Regions from separate parts of the Homo sapiens genome. Here region 2 is linked to region 1. The links are contacts of gene promoters, found by promoter capture Hi-C in blood cells and fetal thymus (Javierre and others, 2016). All regions are on one chromosome and are shown on one strand. The core of a region is centred on a gene start or on the middle of the fragment in contact, and the rest is flanking DNA. Distances in the headings are between cores, read along the strand shown. Region 1 holds the start of WDR25 (WD repeat domain 25). Region 2 overlaps LINC02320 (long intergenic non-protein coding RNA 2320).

Region 1 (2,700 bases), core at 22-2,521:
TCGCCTGAGGGTTCCACTGGTCTACAAGTCAGGTCATCATTCCATAAATGTCTGTAGTCAGCCTCCTCTAGTAATGCCGCCCCCGTTCGCAGCCCATTCCAGGCAGGTAACAACTTCCACACGCAAAGCCAGAGTTTAAATAAAACGACCGGGCGCGGTGGCTCACGCCTGTAATCCTAGCACTGTAGGAGGCCGAGAAGGGCGGATTACCTGAGGTCGGGGGTTCAAGACCAGCCTGGCCAACATGGTGAAACCCCGTCTCTACTAAAAATACAAAAAAAAAAAAAATTTAGCCGTGTGCAGTGGTGCGCGCCTGTAATCCCAGCTACTCTGGAGGCTGAGGCCGCAGAATTGCTTGAACCCGGGAGGCGGAGGTTGCGGTGAGTGGAGATCACGCCACTGCACTCCAGCCTGGGCTACAGAGCGAGACTTGGTCTCAAAAAACAACAACAACAACAACAACTTCTAAAGCCAGCCAGCCAGCTCATCTCCAATGGAACTAATATAATATGAAAGACTAATTATAAACTAATGGAACCGTGCACTGCAAATAATTTGGCATTTCTGTTCTCTAAATGCTAAGCCTGGTCCCGAGGCCACTCTCAACTCCTCTGCCCAGGCACCACCCACCATGCACCCAGATTCCCACCACCAGGGTGCCCGTGCTCCCTCTGGAAGGAGATGAGGGATTAAACGAAGAGGAACAGACAGTAAGATGGAAGGGAAGGCAGGGACACTGGAGAAGAGTCTAAGGAAGGAGCGAGTGACTCTGACAGTCACTATCAGCAAGTCAGCCCCATGAGGACAGGACTTTCTGTGTTTTGTTCACTATTCAATGCCCAGCGTCTAAAAATATTTCTGGAATGCAAACGGGTGGGAGGGGGAGATGCTAGGAAGTAAAAGAAATAGGATATTCCCATTCAACAAACATTTCCTGATTACGTACTCTTTGTCAAGCCCTATGCTGGGTCTGGTGTGGGTGGAAATCAAACACAAAACACAGATCCCCCCGGAGGCCCCAGAGCGATGAAAGCAACAAACAAGATACGACCAGAGATGGGTTTTGAAGGATGAATAGGAGTTAGCTGAGCTGTCAATAGTAAGAAGTAAGGTTGGTCCAAGGCACAGCGCTTTCTGAAGGAACAGGAAGTGAAAGGAAGGCGAGCGGCTATGAGAGACCGCGTTAAGCGGCACGGGGCGCTTTAGGCGCTGCCCAGTCCCGGCCCCTCCAGCCCGGGGCCCGCCGCTCACCACACGCACCGGAAGCGCTCGGTTCTCCCGGAGGCAGACCGGCCAGCACACTACCATCCAGTCACGTTCCGACGCGACGCCGCGGCCGCCAGCCAATCAGTGGCGGCCTCTGCCCCGCCCCCGCGCGAACAGCCAATGACGGCGCCGTCGGGCCGGAAGTTGTTCCGTCCGGACGGCGTTTCCACGGACGCCCAGGAGACAGCCGGTTGCTGAGCCGGGAGCGCTGACTGGCCCGGCTGGGCAGGGTAAGCGAGGGGAGTAAGGCCGGGGCGGAGTGAGGAAACAAGGGAGGGAGTGATGGAGGGACGCTGGCGCGGCGCCCAGTGGCCTGGCCCTCCCGGGAGTATCCTTAGAGCCCGGCTTGCTGCCCGCCGCGTTCTGGCACTGTGAGGCGCGGAGCCTGCCACCGACCCCTCGCCCCTTTCCTCTGAGCGCCGCCGACCCACCCCGTCTCCCTTTCCCACTGGCACCCTTCATCGTCTCCGCCTGTTCGCTTTTCCCGAGGAGAGAGGCCCCCATTTTTATTTAGCGCCTGCCATGTGCCAGAGGCTTTGCGTAGTGTTGCACTTAGTCCCCTCAACGGTAATGTTAGCAGGCTTCTCCATGCCCATTCCACAGATGAGGAAACCGAAGGGGAAGCAGAAAAGTAATGCGACCCTTGCCCAAGGTTTCGAATAAGTCCAAGCTGGGATTGAAACCCAGGCGTCTGTGACCCCAGAACTCCTGATCTTTCCACTGCACTGTGCCGCCTCGGTGAACAGATGCGGGGAATTTACAGTTTCTCTTTCCACCGCCCACGACTACACAAAATCAGTCACACTGACGCTGAGGGTGGGGAACGGGAAGAGGGTGGGGAGGTTATTTGGAGGCCAGCGGGGGGTGAGGGGTGGCTGATGCAATGACCAGCTAATGGCTCGATTCTCAAGAGGGTTTCATTGGTCTCAACCTGGCCCCCCAGGCAACCCACCCCTGATTGGACAGTCTCATCAAGAAGGTTGGTCAAGAGCTCAAGTGTTTCTGAGAATCTGGGTGATTTATAAGAAACCCTTAGCTGAATGCAGGGTGGGGAGAACGAAAGACAAAAGCATCTTTTTTCAGAAGGGAAACTGAAAGAAAGAGGGGAAGAGTATTAAAGACCATTTCTGGCTGGGCAGGGCACTCTCAGCAGCTCAACTGCCCAGCGTGACCAGTGGCCACCTCTGCAGTGTCTTCCACAACCTGGGTATGTATTGCCATCTTTGCCAGGCTTAGAGCTTGTTCGTGTTTTTAGCAAAGTGCTGAAAACCTTGGTTTAGGGGGTCAGGACTTGTGTCTTAGGATTAGGGTGTTATGCATTTTACTTCTTCCATTGACCCAAAGTTCAGGTGATTCACTGCTCCCATAGGGAACAGAGATCCTGGCTGAGCAGTCGCGGGCTTGGATCCGTAGCTTGCCTCTCAGCACCGTCAT
Region 2 (2,700 bases), core at 87-2,586, 1.3 Mb before region 1:
TTTTTGAGACAGGGTCTCGCTCTGTCACCCAGGCTGGAGTGCAGTGTTGCCATCTCGGCTCACTGCAACCTCCGCTTCCCGAGCCAAGTGATCCTCCAACCTTAGCCTCCTGAGTAGCTGGGACCACAGGCATAAGCCACCATGCCTGGCTCATTTTTGTATTTTTTGTAGAGACAGGGTTTCTCCATGTTGTCCAGGCTGACCTTGAACTCCTGAGCTCAAAGTGTTCCACCCACCCCAGCCTCCCAAAGTGCTAGGATTACAGGTGTGGGCCACCACAAATGGCTAGGAAGCCAATTTCATAATGATAAAGATTTCAATTCACCAAGAGAACAAAAACAATTCTAAATGTTAATGCACCTAACAAAAGAGCTCTAAAATGCATGAAGAAAATCTGATAGAACCAGAAGGAGAAATAGACACAGTGAAAATCAGAGATTTCAATACCTCTTTTTCAATAATTTTTGAGAGCAATTAGATAGAAAGTCAGTATGAATATGAAAACTTGAACAATGCTATTGATAACTTGAACTAATTGACATTTATAGGACACTCTACTCAACAACAGGAGGACACACTTTTTTAAAAATACAGAATGTTTACCATATTTGACTATATTGTGAGCTATAAAACAAATCTCAACATATTTAAAATGATTCAAGTCATATCAATACAGGCATACCTCTGAGGTATTGTGGGTTTGGTTCCAGATCACCACAATAAAATGGATATTGCAATAAAGTGAGTCACATGATTTTTTTGGTTTCCCTGAACAAATAAAAGTATGTTTACCCTATTCTGTAGCTTTCAAGTGTGCAATAGCATGATATCTAAAAAGCAATGTACATATCTTAATTCAAAATACTTCATTGCTAAAAATGCTAACTATCATCTGAGCCTTCAGCAAGTCATAGTCTTTTTGCTGGTGGAGGATCTTACCTTGATGTTGATGGCTGTTGACTGATCAGGGTGGTGGTTACTGGCAGTGGTTGTGGCAATTTCTTTCTTTCTTTTTTTTTGAGATAGGGTCTCACTCTTTACCCAGGCTAGCATGCAGTGGCACAATCATAGTTCACTGCAACCTCAAACTCCTGGGTTCAAGGGATCCTCCCACCTTAGCCTCCTGAGTAACTGGGACTACAGGCATGTGCCACTGTGTCTGGCTGATTTCTTTAATTTTTTTGTAGAGTCAAGGTCTCTTTTTATTGTCCAGGCTGGTCTGGAACTCCTGGCCTCAAGTGATATTCCCCACTTGGCCTCCCAAAGTGTTAGGATTACAGGCATGAGCCATTGTGCCTGGCCCAATTTCTTAATATGAAACAAGAATGAAGTTTGTCACATTGATGGACTTTTCCTTTCATGAAAGATTTCTCTGTAGCTTGTGATGCTATTTGGCAGCATTTTACCCACAGTAGAACTTTCAAAATTGGAGTCAGTCCTCTCAAAGCCTGCCACTGTTTTATCAACTGGGTTTATGGAATATTCTAAATCCTCTGTTGTCATTTCAACAGTGTTCACAGCATCTTCACCAGGAGTTATTCCATTTCAAGAAACCACTTTATTTGCTCAGCCATAAGAACCAACTCCTCATCTGTTCAAGTTTTCTCATGAGATCGTAGCAATCCAGTCACATCTTTAGGCTCCACTTATAATTCTGGTTCTCTTGCTATTTCTATCATATCTGCAGTTCCTTCCTCTACTGATGTCTCGAACCCCTCAAAGTTATCCATGAGGGTCGGGACCAACGTCTTCCAAACTCTTGTTTTATTTTGAGACAAGGTCTCACTTTGTCACCCAGGCTGGAGGTCAGTGGTGTGATCTTGGCTCACTGCAGCCTCGACTTCTGGGCTCAGGTAATCCTCCCATCTCAGCCCCCAAAGTAGCTGGGACTACAGGTGCACGGCACCATAGCCAGCTAATTTTTGCATTTTTAGTAGAGATGGGGTTTTACCATGTTGTCCAGGCTGGTCTCAAACTCCTGGACTCAAGCCATCCGCCCTCCTCAGCCTCCCAAAATGCTGGGATTACAAGCACGAGCCACTGTGCCCGCCCAAACTCCTGTTAATGCTGCTATTTTGACCTCTTCCCATGAATCACAAATGTTCTTAATGGCATCTAGAATTGTGAATTCTTTCCAGAAAGTTTTCAATTTACTTTGCCTAGCTCCATCAGGGGAAGCATACCTACGGCAGCTATAGTGTTATGAAACGTGTTTCTTAAATAACAAGACTTGAAAGTCAGAATTACGCTTTGACTCATGGGCTGCAGAATGGACGTTGTCCTAGCAGGCATAAAAACATTAATCTCCTTGTACACCTCCATCAGAGCTGTTGGTTGACTACAGGCACTGTCATGAACAGTAATATTTTGAGAGAAATTTGAGCATGGGTCTCAAGAGTGGCTTTAAAGTATTCAGTAAGCCATGCTGTAAACGTGCTGTCATCCAGGTTTTGTTGTTCCATCTAGAGAACACATGCAGAGTAGATTTAGCATAATTCCCTAGGATTTGCAGAATGGTAAATGAACACCGGATTCAACTCAAAGTCACCAGCTGCATTAGCCCCTGCCAAGAGTGTCAGCGTGTCCTTTGATGTTTCAAGCCAGCATTGACTTCTCTTCTGTAGCTATGAAAGTTCTAGATGGCATCTTCTGCCAATATAAGGCCGTTTCATTTACATTGAAAATCTGTTGTTTAATCTA

What was found. The method cuts DNA at HindIII sites, captures the fragments that hold promoters and counts their contacts. A CHiCAGO score of 5 or more calls a contact.
Region 2: a fragment that was not itself captured here is called in contact with the fragment with the promoter of WDR25 in region 1 in 8 of 17 cell types (endothelial precursors, M0 macrophages, naive CD8 T cells and 5 more); the score reaches 9.4 in endothelial precursors.

The regions. Positions count from the first base shown.
Region 1 is chr14:100,375,056-100,377,755 of GRCh38, reverse strand. It overlaps WDR25 (WD repeat domain 25), which reads right to left and starts at 1,271. Exons shown (of 7, transcript NM_001161476.3): 1 at 1,261-1,271. WARS1 (tryptophanyl-tRNA synthetase 1) reads left to right here and starts at 2,409. Exons shown (of 11, transcript NM_004184.4): 1 at 2,409-2,473. RefSeq lists silencers at 1,138-1,187, 1,378-1,437 and enhancers at 1,948-2,307, 2,318-2,457. The HindIII fragment of the contact is 16,259 bases long and covers 1-2,700 here.
Region 2 is chr14:101,655,615-101,658,314 of GRCh38, reverse strand. The region is part of intron 1 of LINC02320 (long intergenic non-protein coding RNA 2320); the gene reads left to right. Among named protein-coding and RNA genes, the nearest start is that of LINC00239, 73 kb to the left of the region's middle. The HindIII fragment of the contact is 3,632 bases long and covers 1-2,700 here.